Regions from separate parts of the Homo sapiens genome. Here region 1 is linked to region 2. Evidence: promoter capture Hi-C in human tissues and cell types (Jung and others, 2019). All regions are on one chromosome and are shown on one strand. Each heading gives the region's core, a stretch centred on a gene start or on the middle of the fragment in contact. The rest is flanking DNA. Distances are from core to core; before and after follow the strand shown.

Region 1 (6,913 bases), core at 3,913-6,412, 1.0 Mb before region 2:
AAGCTGATTCAGGTCGATGGACTCAATGCCCCTTGAACATGTGGTCCTGATCACAAATAAACCTGCCATGTGGAATTCTGCGGTCCGTTGGCTCCAGCATTGATTTTCTATGGTCTACAGCTCTCGAGCCTGCAAAATGCACTTCTAGAACAGAAATTTAGAGGAATGAAGTCAGCTAAGGTGGAATATTTACCTCCTTTTCCACCTTCTACACTCCACACCTCAATCAGGGGAAGTGTCAGTGCTCCCAGAACAGTGTGAAACAGGGAAATGGCGTGAAGAGGTCTGGGGAATGGGCAGGGGCAACAGCAAGCCTGGCCCTGGAGGTTCAATTAATGTCCCTGAGGACTTAGGTTAGAGTTCATGAGATAGAGATGAGTTCATTCAGCCCACAGCATCTCTTTGGGGCCTCTCTTTGCTAATTCTGTGCCAAAGGTGGGAAACTTGAGACAAATAAGGCCATTCCGGCTCCTTGGGAGCTTGGAGTCTGGCAAAGGAGTTGGATATTAAGAAAACAATCACAGCCCAGAATGACAGCTGGGACAAGGCACAGTGGCAGCTGGGTGGGGGGGAGACAATTACCCATCTGGGAGTCAGGGCTTCCTACAGGAAGTGATATTAGTGACATTCAGTATGGACTTTGAAGGCTGAATGAGAGTTCACCAGCAGACAAGGTGGGGAAATGAGCAGCTTATGCCAAGGCATGTCGGTGATGTTACCGGAAAAGGTCTCGATTAAAACCTCAAGAGAGGGTTCTTGGACCTCATGCAAGAAATAATTTGGGGCAAGTCCATAGAATAAAGTGAAAGCAAGTTGATTAAGATAGTAAAGGAATAAAGAATGGCTACCCCATAGGCAGAGCCCTGGCATGGGATGCTCGAGTCTAAGTATATTTATGGTTATTTCTTGATCACGTGCTAAACAAGGGGTGGATTATTCACGAGTTTTCTAAGAAAGGGGCAGGGATTTCTGGAACGAAGGGTCCCTCCTCTTTTTAGACTATATAGAGTCTAAAAGGAATCCTTGTCCAAACCTAAGGGAGAACTCGAATGGAAGAGAAATCCCACTTGGAATCCTATTTGAATTCCAAGTGGGATTTCTCTTCCATTCGAGTTCTCCCTTAGGTTTGGGCTCCCTGATGAACTCGAATTTGCAGAAGTGTTTTGTGTTTGTGACAAGGAACTAGTCCAGTTCCAGTGAATTGTAGTGACCATCTGGGTTGAGATTTTTATCAGCAGATAATCTGCAGTTCTCCCAAGCAGAGCCTAAATGGATCTTTCCAGTCTGAACAGCCAGCCTAAACTGCATCACCAGCCCACAATTCAGTTCTCCAAAAACTATGGTGGACACTCAGAAAAGCCCAAGTTGTCTAGGAGGTAAATGGGTGATATAGAAAGGTAAGAAGAAAAAAACCAATAACACAATTTTAAAATGCACAAAGGACTTGAATAGACACTTCTCCAAAGAAGATAAACAAATGGCCAACAAGCACATGAAAAGATGCTGAACATCACTCATCATTAGAGGAATGCAAATCGAAACCACAATGAGATTCCATTTCACATCCATTAGAATGGTTATTATCAAAAACAAATGAACGAATAAAGAAATAAAAACAGGCCAGACACAGTGGCTCATGCCTGTAATCCCAGCACTTTGGGAGGCCAATGCAGGAAGATCACTTGAGGCCAGAAGTCCAAAACCAGACTGGTCAACATAGTGAGATTCTGTCTCTACAAAAGGAAAATTTTAAAAATAGCCAGATGTGCTGGTGGGTGCCTATAGTCCCAGCTACCAGGGAGGCGGAGGCAGAGGATCCCTTGAGCCCAGGAGATCAAGGCTGCAGTAAGCCATGATCAAAATCACTGCACTCCAGCCTGGGTGACAGGATGAGACCCTGTCTCTTAAAAAACAAAACAAGGCCGGGGGCGGTGGCTCATGCCTGTAATCCCAGCACTTTGGGAGGTTGAGGGGGGTGGATCACCTGAGGTCAGGAGTTTGAGACCAGCCTGACCAATAGGGTGAAACCCCATCTCTACTAAAAATACAAAAATTAGCCAGGCATGGCGGGCGCCTATAGTCCCAGCTACTCGGGAGGCTGAGACAGGAGAACTGCTTGAACCCAGGAGGCAGGGGTTACAGTGAGCTGAGATTGCGTCACTGCACTCCAGCCTGGGAGACAGAGCAAGACTCTTTCTCAAACAAAACAAAACAAAACAAAACAAACAAACAAAACAGATAATAACAAGTGTTGGCAAGGATGTAGAGAAATTGGAACCTTTGTGCATTGCTGAGGGAATGCGAAATGCCACAGCCCCTGTGGAAGACAGTTTAGGGGCTCCTCAAAAAAAAATTAAACATAGAAGTATCACATGATCCAGCAATTCCATTTCTTGGTATATGCACAAAAGAATTGAAACCAGGGACTTGAACAGATATTTTTATACCAATGTTCACAGCAGCATTATTCAGAATAGCCAAAAGATGAAAACAACCCAAGTGACTGTTGACAGATGAATGGATAAAGAAAAAGTGCTATATACATATAATGGAATATTATTCAGCCATAAAAAGGAAATTCTGACACATGCTACAACATGGATGAGCTTTGAGGACATTATGCCGAGTGAAATAAGCCAGACACAAAAAGACAAACATTGTGTGTTTCCACTCATATGAAGTACCTAGCATAGTCAAACTCATAGAGATGGAAAGTAGAACAATGGTTGCCAAGGCCTGGAGGAGGTTGGGGGGCAGTGGGGGGGGACTCAGTGTTTAATAGGGACAGAGCTCCAGTTTAGGAAGATGAGAAAGTTCTGGAGAGGGATGGTGGTGACAGTTGCACAACAATGTGAGTGTACTTAATGCCACTCAACTGTATGCTTTAAACATGGTTGAAATGTTAAATTTTATGTTATGTATTTTTTACTACAATAAAAAAGTAAAACAAAGGAAAGATACGTAAAGATGCAGGGATAGCATCTTCTGCTACTGGTGGTTGTGGGGGGACCTTTGTCTTCCCCAGACAGAGGAGACGGACACAGCCAGCAGGACCCACCTCTGCCACCCATGGTGTGGCTGGGGGCAGGTCTCTCTGCCTCTCCGGAAAAACCCAGGAAGCTGGCTGATTCAGAGAGGGCCTCTAGCTTCTGCCTTCTTAGGAAGGCTTGGCTCCTAATAAGGCAATGCACGATGTGGCAGGGACGGAAAAGCAGACCTTCACTTCTTTGGACATTTCCAATGAGGCCTCAGGACCCTCTGGCTTGGGACTGTACTTCAGAAGAATGTGCCTTACAGGAATTACATGAGTGAGGGTCCTGGCACCGAACAGATGCCACCCTCAAGCTGGGTCCATGAAGACAGTTTAGTAAAGGGTCAATGTATACGGGTGTGGGCGGGGCTAAGGAAGCACCGAGGATGGCGTAGTACCCAGGGCTTGCAACAGCAAGACTGTCACTGTCCTGAGCAGAAAAGTGGCTTCAGGAACCCTGAGAGAGACCATGTGAGAAAGGGCACCTTTGGTAAAAACAATCGGGGAGGAGGGGCTTAGGGATTAAATACCCAGACCTCCCTCTCTCCTCTTGCCCTCAATCTCCTGCCAGGCCCTTCCACTGGCCAAGCCAAACAGGAAGACCAGGACAGAGAGCTGTCAGTGAAATCCACACAGGCCAGCCTCTGGGGCTGGAGCAGGATGGTAAAGTCTGGCAAGGAAGTCAGAGGAGCAAATGGAGGGGCGGATCCAAAGTGAATCAGCCCAAATCATCCACGTGGCCTGGCCGAGGCTGAGAGCCGTCCTACCCTGGATAAGCCCACCCTTTTCCAAAGGCTGATCCTGGACCGGGGTGGGAAGTAGCTCTGTCGTGGCATGGAGAAGAGTCGTACGGTTTGTTGAAAAGAGCCCCCACTTACTGGCTGTGAAAACACTGGCCAGGAGCCTAAACCTCCCATCCATGCATTATATATTCATTTATCCATTCATTCAGCCAACATCTCCTGAAAGTGACTCAGTGCCCAGCCAGTGCTAGGAGGCACTAGATGAAGAAACGAGGAGCTGCCCCAGCCACGGCAGCTTCAACGTGTGAGATCCACCTAGAGCCAGGCAGTGACGGGCTCCATCCACCGGCTCCCTGACTCTGGACCTTCACTGATGTAATTCCTGTAAGGCACATTCTTCTGAAGTACAGTTCCCAAGTCAGAGGGTCCTCAGGCCTCATTGGAAATGTCCAAATGTCTGGAGGCCGTCCTCTGTAAAAACACCTTTTCCTCCTAGAGTCTGCCTGAGGATGCAAAGACAGCATTTGTGAAAAGCAGGGGCCACGGGGCCCAGCGAGCAGTTAAGTGCTCCGCAACTGGAAATCGATGGCCTTGCTAACAAGCACCCAGCTGCCCCTCACACATAGTCACCACCCTTTTATCCCCTTTTGTTGCTTCCATGGCAATTACATTGCACGTATGCGCATTTGTTGCAGTTTTTCTCTCCCTCACTCCCCATGTCCCAGACTGAGGCTGGGGGAACCTGGTCACGGGTCTCTTGCTCCTCCTGAATCACCAGGGCTTGGGGTGGCTTTAGGAACGCCAGCACTCATACCATGGACTGCACTGCGGAATGGCTTCACATGCACTTAATCCCGGGCGCAGCACCGGCAGGCAGGCGGTACTACTGACACGTGCTACAACATGGATGAGCCTTGAGGACATTATGCCGAGTGAAATAAGCCAGACACAAAAAGACAAACATGGTGCTTGTACTACTAGGCTCATATTATAGACGAAGAGACCCAACCCAGAGAGGTTAAGCAACTTGCCGAGGGCACAGAGTGGAAAAGCGGCAAAGCCGGGATTCGAACCCGGGTGTCCGGCTCTCCAAACTGGCGGTGGATGGCGGCTGCCGGAGCGAGAGTGCTGGAATGAATCGATACGTCAATCAGTGAACGGGCGACGGGGTCAGTCCAGTCCCCTCCCCCGGCGCGGCGGCTCAGCACCGGGACAAAGGCCGGGCGGGGGCCGGACGTGGCCGGCGGGGTTCGCGCGCGGTGGGCGGGGGTCGGGGCCGGGCCCTTTAAGGGGGGCGGGCCGGCGGCGCGGGGGGCGGTGCGGGGGGCGGTGCGGGGGGCGGTGCGGGGGGCGGGCCGGGGGCGGGCGGCGGCGGCTGGGCCCGGCTGGAGTGCGCGCCGAGCGAAGGGCGGCGGCGGTGGCGGCGGCGGCTCGTGCTCGGCCCCGGCTGCGATTGCGCTCAGCTCCAGGTTCCCTGCCCGCGGCGGCGCGCCCCCAGCGCTCCCTGCACCCCGCGCCACCCGCACCCGCGCTCGGCCCGCTGCGGGCGGAGGAGCGGCCATGCCGCCGCGGCGCAGCATCGTGGAGGTGAAGGTGCTAGACGTGCAGAAGCGGCGGGTGCCCAACAAGCATTATGTGAGTGCGGCGCGGCCCCCACGCCCCCTTGAGCCCGCGCCCCGTCGGGGGCGACCGAGGGCCCCCGGCTTGGAAAACTTCTGCCTCCAGCGCTTCCCGTCCCCTCCTCCCCTGCTCTCCCCTCGGCTCTGCGGCGGCGCTGCCCGGGTCCCTCCCGACTCCTCCTCCCTCCCTCCCCTCCCCTCCCCGCTTTTGCCTCGTTCTCCCCCTCCATCCCTTCCTCCCGCCTCGCCCCCCTACTCGCCTCCCTGCGGCTCCTCTACCCCTTTCTGTCTTCTCCGTGTCCCCCCAACTCCCGTCCTGCTCATCTGTGGAAAAGTCTGGCTCCAGCCGGTGAGGGGTCTGAGACAGAAAGCGGGAGAGACAGAAGTGCCTGTTCTCAGGCCGCCCGCCTTGCCCCTCCTTGTCCAGAGGCGCGCAGACCCGCAGTCCCCAGCCACAGGTAGCCCCTCTAGGGTTCGCCGAATTTGACTCCGTTCTTTGGCAAGAGCCGGCCTGGGCGATGGAGGAGATCTCTGGGAATGGATCATTTGAGTGGCTACGCCTTTAAAGGGTTAAAAACATCCCCTGCCCCCTCTCTCCAGTAACTTCTGTTTTAAAATGTACGAAAGTTTTCTCCTGGCATCTCCCTCTGGAACATGGGAATCTTGTTTGGAGCTGGCAAGGACTTGAGAAAATGGGACAGTAGCGTCGTTTTGCAGATAGGAAGGCTGAGGCTCAGAGGTTGCAGGTCCTGGAACATAGAGCTGCATTCGGGCTTCCCTCCCTCCAGCAGGGGTGCCTGGGGCTGACGGTGACCTGCAGGTGGAAAGTGGCTTCCGCAGCAACCTAGGGGACACGTCTGCAGATTCAGGAGGCCCTGGGACCACCTCGCAGGTTCTAGGTGGAGATAAAGGGGATGTGGGGTGATGGGCCCACATGAGGCCTTGGGGAGGGCCTCATTACAGCAGGGAAGGGGGCTATAGTGTCTCTGGCGGTGAGAAGTGGGCAGTGGCGGAGCCTGGCTGCAGAGAAGTTAACCAGGAAGGGAAAAAGAGTAAGAGGGAGGGAAAAAATCCTAACAAAGAAGTATAGAACAATGAATAGAAAAGGGCGTTGGCTGGCTAAATTAAGCTCCTTGGCCTCCCTGGAAGTCGTCTTCAGATCTTTTTTTTTTAAGAACTAATTCTTACAAAGTAGATCTGCATGCCTTCCGTGAATAGCCTGTGAAATTCTGAAAGGAGATAGCCGGGAACCCACTCCGCGCTCTCCACAAGAAAGGGTGTGCTGTGTGAGTCTGTATTGTTATTGGCTGGGCAGCCAGTTATTCAGCCCTTAGCCAGGCGGTGGGAAGCTATTTCCTGGACCTGTGGCATCTTTATATAGAGTGAAGTTTCCCTTGATTCCAGAGCTGAGCTAAATTGTCTTTTTTTTTTCCTTCCTTTTTTTATTTTTTGTTAACTGTTTTCAAATGCTGCCAAATCTTAGTTTCTTGTTTGAGCCTGTTAGCGTGTAAGTGAGTTTG
Region 2 (6,769 bases), core at 1,925-4,424:
TTGCAAAGCCCTGAGCCCTTCCTGCCATGTAGAGAGGCCTCCCTGGCCCCGGCTCACCCTAAAGGAGCTTGAACTGCTACCCGCTAAGTGCAGCCTACCCAAACCTCAGCAGGGAGCAGGCCCCAGATTCCTGGCAGTTAACATCATTTGGCTCCTACCCCTCATTTCAACCATTAAGGCCACCCCACCTTTGCCCCTGTAGTGTGAATGGGGACATAAGCCTGACAACCTTGCCCATAACTCCCAGGATAACATTTCTTTATCTTTAGGGGTCATAGATGTTTTGAAACTCTGTGGGGAGCAGGCAACCCTCTTCCAGACACAGCACATTTGAGCACCATTTTTGTGCAGTGTTTCAGGGACCTCCCCCTCCCACAATCCCATCCTTTGACACTCCAAGGGTACATGGACCATGGGTTAAAAACATCAGTCTTATGGCACTTTGGATGCAGAAAGGCCGGTGGGGACAAGGGGGAAGGTGGAGGTGGTGGGGAGAGGAGGATCCCTCACCTGCTTGAAGGCTGCCTCTTGACCTAACCAGGGCAGACCACCCAGCTCTTTCCCAAGATGCTGGCTCTAGCTCTGGCCAGGAGGTGGAGGTGGGATGCAGAGTCCACACTCCCTCCCTCCAGCTCCCACGGAGAACACAAAGACCACACAGCAGCCCCTCCTGGGCCCTACTTCAAGAAGAACCAACAGCAGCAGGCATCCAGAGGCTTGAGCCACACATCCGCAGGCCTCCCTGCTACTCCTTGCCCATTTCATCCCTCCTGCCCCCAGGCACAGCACTCTGGAAAAGAGCTCTTGCCCAGGTCAGACAAGCAGACCCCCTGGAGTGACCCCAGGGCCTGCCCTCTGCTTGGGGACTCAGCTGCAGACCAGGCAGGCCATGCCTGGCACTGGCCTCCCTCTTTGACACCAGCCGTTCCCCACCCCCACCCCCATCACCACACAGGTCACATCTGCTTTGGCAAACAGCCAGTCTTAAGTTACTGACTCCAGTTATATTGATTCAAGGAGTCACTGGGGACCCCAGCCTGGCCAACAGGAGGAAAGAACCCATCAGTCCGTCCACCCTTCCATCCCCAAGCCCCAATGGATGCCCCCAGCTCAGTGCCTATCAGGAGGGTAACAACCCTCTCCTGGGCGTGGAAGGAAGATAGCAGGCCCACCACCGCCAAACACTGCGAGTGGCTGTTGAGTCGCGCAGTGCTCAAGGCACACAACACTCCTTGAGCCAGAAAACCGGGAGAACCACCAATTTCCTGTGCTCAAGGCTAGCTCTGGGGATCTCCACAATCCAGAAGGCTAAGGTCTAAGAATCTTCTCTAATCCCGGAAAGCCACCTGCCTTCCACCGAGGGGGAAGGGTCAGACAACCCTCTTTTGACCTGTGTCCAGTTCCTCCTGGCCTGGCCCCTTGCAGCACTAGGTGGGTGGGGGCTTGGGGAGCTGACGCTTCCTATTCCCTTTGCCCGCCGCCCCCCGACCCCCACCATGCAGAGGCAGCCCTGGTCTGGTTCTAATCGGGGCTGAAGTCGGCTCCCTTTTTCGCTCTTCTCTCTCCCTCCCCCCAACCCTTTTTCCTTCATTTCTACGGCTTTGGAAGCCAGAGCGTTCCAACTGTCTGCGTGCCAAGACCTTCCCGAGTCTGAAAGCTGCTGAAGTAACAGATCAGATTTTAGCAAGTGCTTTCCAGGCCGAGCGCCAAGCCCTCTTCTGATTCACGGAGAGCGAGCGAACCGGGAGCAGGCGGGGAACCAACGAGGGCTGCACCACCTTAGGCGAGGGAGTGCGGAGCGCGGCCCATCCGGGAGCGGCCTCGCGGGCAGCGGCCACTCGGCCTAGGCGCCCTCGAGCTTCCCCTCGTCCCGGGCATGTGTGTGTGTCTGTGTGTGTGTCTCAGTGCTGCAAGCGCCTTCAAAACCACAGAGTAATTTACAACTGAAGCTTTCTCCCTGGACTCGAAATCCACTCGGCTGAAAGTCTTTTTGTTTGGAAGCGGCGATGTTAAGGGAAGGTTGGCAGAGAAAATCCCTAGGTCCTACCCCTCGCTGGCTGCGGGCAGGGGTCTTAGAGCTGGGTATATTGTTGCGGCTGAGCCCGCCGGCTCTGCGGGATCTCCTCCCAGCCGAGGCCGACAGTGGCCGCGACAGCCAGCGCCTCCTCGGGCCCCGCGGCAGAGCCCCTTGCCCTTGGCCGGTTCCCCGCCGGCGCAGGGCGCACGCGGAGCCGCCCTTCCGCGCCCTGGGAACAGGTGCACTGGGCTCAGCGCCCAGGAGGGGTGGGGCACAGGGAGGGGGCGCGGCCGGGGAAGGGGGGTCGGCGTGTACCGCGAGGCAGGGGCGGGAGGAGGTCAAAGTCAGGAGCCCACGTACCTGTACCTGGAAGCACAGCAGCAGGAAGTGTAAACACCTGCGGGAAACAGATGGAGAAGCGGTCAGTGGGACCTGAGGAAGGGGGCGCACGGACAGACAGACACGCAGTCGAAGAGTCAGGTGAACCGACGGGCGGGCAGACAGAGGTACAGGGCACAGGCATACGGACAGACAGCCAGGCAAGGTGGGCAGCCCCGCGCGCGGGCGCTTACAGGCAAGTGCAGGCGGAGGGCGCTGAATACATCGCTGGGCGGGAGGGAGGCGGCGGCTCCTAGCCCAGCCTGCACATGTCCGCTCCGCGCGGCCGGGACCGGGCGCCTCCGCCGCCGCCGCCGCCGCCGCCGCCGCTGCTGCTGCTCCCTCCTCGCCGGCTGCTGCTGCTGCAGACTCTGCTGCTCCGGGGCGCTCCGCGGCGCGCCCTGCGGCATCAGCGCCCCGCGCGGCTCCTCCCGAGCGCTGCGCCCTCCGGGCTGGCGCAGGGGCTGCGGGGCGGCAGCCGCTGTGCAGGAGGCGCCTGGCCGGTGCGGGGAAGCTCGCTCACTGCTGGCCGGCCGGCCGTCCGGGCGTCCGTGGGAGGCTGGCTGCCCGGCTCAGTCCGGGGACAGCATGCGCGGCGGGTCTGGAAGCCGAGTTGCGCTCTCCGGCCCGGGCGCGGAGCTGCGTGGGGCCAGGGGTCAGCGCTCCGGGGTCGGGGCGCGCGGCTGCAGCGCGAAAGCGTCACGGCCGCTCCGTCTGGGCGCCCGCCGGCTCATGTCTCCTCCTCCGCGTCTCTCCGGCCGTGCGCATCGCCGCCTCCCACCACTGGCGGCGGCCGGGGCGTTTTCTACGCGCGGGCGGCGAGGGGGCGGGGGGCCGGGGGCGGGCCCGGGCCCGAGCCGGCACAATGAGGATGCGGGGCCTGGGGGCTCCCCCCTCGGGGCGCGGCCGGACGGGCGCTCAGCTCGCCTGGGTGCGCCCAGCCCACATCAAAGGCGGCCCTGCCTGCTCGCCTGCCTGCCGCGGCCTCTCGCTGCCTCCTCCTCCTTCTCCTGGCGGCTCGGGGTTGGAGGGGAGGCGCTCAGACTCTCGGAGACGGGACCGGCAGCTCCAAAGGGGCAGGACCCGCGAGACTGAAGCTGGTGAGCGCTGGAAGCCGTCGGAGCTCTGCGCCCGAGCGCAGTGACCGCTCCTCCGCGCAAACGTTGCCCAAATTGGGCAGGCGATGCTCCCCAAGAACGCAGTTAGGTACGGAACGTCCTCACCTGCCCACATTCGCTACTCGCACTCACTCACCAGCGCTCTAGTGGAGAGCCGAGAGGGGCGGGTCAAACCCAGCCCCGGGGCGGCTCCACTGAATGGGGGTCGCTTTTACCCGCCCTGCGATCGTGGAGTTTCCCAGCCACCCTCTTGACTGGCTACCCACTTAAGTGAGCCCCCGTCCTCTTCTTACGTCCCTGCCGCTGCGAAGGGGGCTCCCGGGCATCTCTCCTTCCCACCCCTCGCCCCCTCCGGGGCTCTGGGGTCGGTTCACGGGATCCCAGCTGGACTCTCCCGTAGGCGAGCCAGCTTTGGAAACACACGGCTACCACCAAGCGGCCCCGAGACGTCACTGCAACCCCAGCACGGACGGCTGCACGCCGGGGAGCAGCCAGCAGGACTCTGGTCAGCGACCACGCTGAGGCCCTCTTCCGGCCTCCTCCCAAAACCGGACTAAGACTTGCCTCCGTTTGCATACTAGGCAGCTTCGTTCCTTTAACCAGGGCCCCATTCAGGACACTGGTTCTTACCGCCTCTGCCCCTTCCAGAGGCATAACTCCTGTCCTTCCCACCAACCCCAAAACGTAGGTGTTCTTGTCACGTACCTGCCTCACTGTCTAGAGCTGGTGTCAGCCAAGCTCTGCTTGAGCCTGATGCTAAGGAAAATAGGTCACAGTGAGAAAGACGCTGGAGGACAGGCTCAAGCAAAACTCAGGAATCTGGACTATTTGGTTAAAGCCTCCTTGCGTTGGCAATGGTTGATGGTCCACTGGAGCATAAACTGAGGTAGGACTGTCGAACAGTGCTATTTGCTGAAGCCATGACTATAAAACATTAGTAATTGTTCCAAATATCAGGCCTCCTTGCAAGCTATTTTAAGTTCCCTTTCAAAGCTGAGGCTATTTTAAACAGATAGCCTCTGTTTCAACATCGGACACAAGTGCAGAAAACCTTTTCAAAACCAGGTGCTGAGGGGGAAAATTCCTGCATGAAGCTTTTAAGCTGAATTTACTTAGACATTCTGATTGCCAGAGCTGGACTTGCAGAGTTACTCGTAACTTCCCAAGTTCTGGAGAAAATGAATCGATCCCAAGATAGGATGCAATGACCAACCATAAATAGAAATGGACAGAAATGCTCCCACCGATGACCCGAGTCATTGCCGCCGTCTTTGATCTTGCTTTATAGGAAGATTGACAAACCCAGTCGAGGAGTTTTTGGCTTACCATCTGCTAGTTTGAAGTATCTCCTGGCTAAGAATCATGCTTCCAATTTTCTATATTGTTACTATTTTTTATTACTTGTGAATGGAATGGGTATATAATTATTTATACCCTATCTAAAATGCTTGCAGTATTTTTCAATGCTCAAAGTATATTTGCCAATCTCACCTACCAAACAAATCAGACTGACCAAAAAGTCCAGCCAAGAGAACAGTTCTGAGTAAGAGCATAAACTCAGGAGTCAGAAGTACTGCATTTGAATACTGCCACCAACATTTACTTATAAATTCCAGCAAGCAACGGTTTGAGATTCTGCTTCCTCCTCTACAAAATATGGCTAAGAACAGTAACAACTCTCACAGAGTTGTGAGTACTCAATGAGTGTCTGGCACACAATGAAAACTCCAAACGTTTTAGCTGCTAACTAATAATCCTAATTATTATTCAGGTTACTTTCAGGTTATTTTCACATTTCTTTCTGAACAATTTCATGAAGTAGGGAGGCAGGATCATTTCCAATTTACAGTTGAAGAGGCATCTAGTCAGAATGTCTTTTGACTCCAAATCCATTTTATACTACACATTCTTTTCCCCACCACTCACACCCTCTAGTTTCATGCACCTATTTACCAACATGACCTATTTACCATATGCCTGAATCTTAAATGGGTTCTATCTGGATTTGGCATGTTCATACAACACTTAATATATACCACTATTTTAGTAGTCACTTCTTACTAATTCAATCACAATTTATTGAGATCCTACAGTGTCGAGCCCTCACTGAAAGACAGGCAAGGTCCCTGCACTAAAAAAGCACTTCGTTTCCACTAGGGAAGATGGGCAATAAGCAAATACACCAAGAGATAAATGCTGGCTTGTTACCAGTGTTTTGAGAGAAACCAGTGGGATAGAGAAGCCAGAAGACCTCTTGGTAACATTAAGGCCAAGACCCAAAGACAGTAGATAGCCATGCAAAGGAATATTCCAGGTAAAAGATGCAAAGTGCCTCCAGTGGAAAAAGGCTAGGCGACTGGCAGGGTTAGCCAGGGAGAGTGTGGCAAGAGATGAGGGTGAAAACAGGCAATGTGCTTGACCAGGCCTTCACAGGAAATTAAGTAGCCATCAATGGCTTAAGGGTACCAGTTTTGCAATGCATCAGTTTTAAGTGTACAGTTCAGTTCTGACAAATGTATCTAGGTACAAACACCACCTCTTCTCAGGCAATCTTCCGGCCCCCAATTGCTCGTCCCAAGCAATCATTTATCTGGCACTGGTTTATTTTCGATTTCACATAAATGGAACCACCTATTATGTGCTTGTGTCTGGCTGAGCATGTTTGAGATTGATCCATTGTTGCATTTTGCAGTAGTCAATTTTCATCGTGGGATAGTACTTAATAGTATAGATATGCCACAATTTGTCAATTAAGGGCTTTGAAACAGTCAAAATTCAGTTTGTTAAAAAAGCTTTACCCTGGCTAAGAATGAAGTGGAATGCTGTTACACCATTCCACTTCATTCTTAGTAGCTGGAGTAAGGAGGATGCTAAGCTAGCTGTTACCAGTCCAGGTAAGGGTACCGTAGCTTGGGCTACGCAGCCATGTGCTATTTTGGGGGTCGGAATCAGACACACCTGCATTAAATTCCCAGCTCTAAGCTAATAAACTCAGGCAATTTTCTGAGGGGAGTTAAGAATATATGTTGACAAGTAACACAATGAAATGTAAGCCCTGCAGAGCATCTCGCTGCCTTGCCTACTAACCCTACGCACCTAGAACTTTCGTCTGAAACAGAGTATATATTTAAATCCCTTTGTTCAAGTGTGCAAGTAAACTGAGTACTGCAGTCTTTCCACTTGTTTCCCACTTCTTCCCAGTCTTGACTGAGAAGACTCCTAAGATTCAGGGAATCTGTGGAATACAAATATTGTG

Evidence for each region. Contacts are between HindIII fragments. The study calls those that stand out against the background at their distance.
Region 1: a contact is called between the fragment with the promoter of SH3PXD2B here and the fragment with the promoter of FGF18 in region 2, in 1 of the 25 tissues and cell types used here (IMR-90 fibroblasts).

Annotation. Positions count from the first base shown.
Region 1 is chr5:172,452,774-172,459,686 of GRCh38, reverse strand. SH3PXD2B (SH3 and PX domains 2B) reads left to right here and starts at 5,162. Exons shown (of 13, transcript NM_001017995.3): 1 at 5,162-5,409. The coding sequence starts at 5,335. RefSeq lists an enhancer at 5,675-6,196. The HindIII fragment of the contact is 19,152 bases long and covers 1-6,913 here.
Region 2 is chr5:171,416,052-171,422,820 of GRCh38, reverse strand. FGF18 (fibroblast growth factor 18) reads right to left here and starts at 3,174. Exons shown (of 5, transcript NM_003862.3): 1 at 2,590-3,174; 2 at 2,378-2,414. The coding sequence starts at 2,621. RefSeq lists silencers at 2,668-2,747, 2,808-2,857, 2,998-3,107, 3,228-3,337. The HindIII fragment of the contact is 5,522 bases long and covers 1-5,456 here.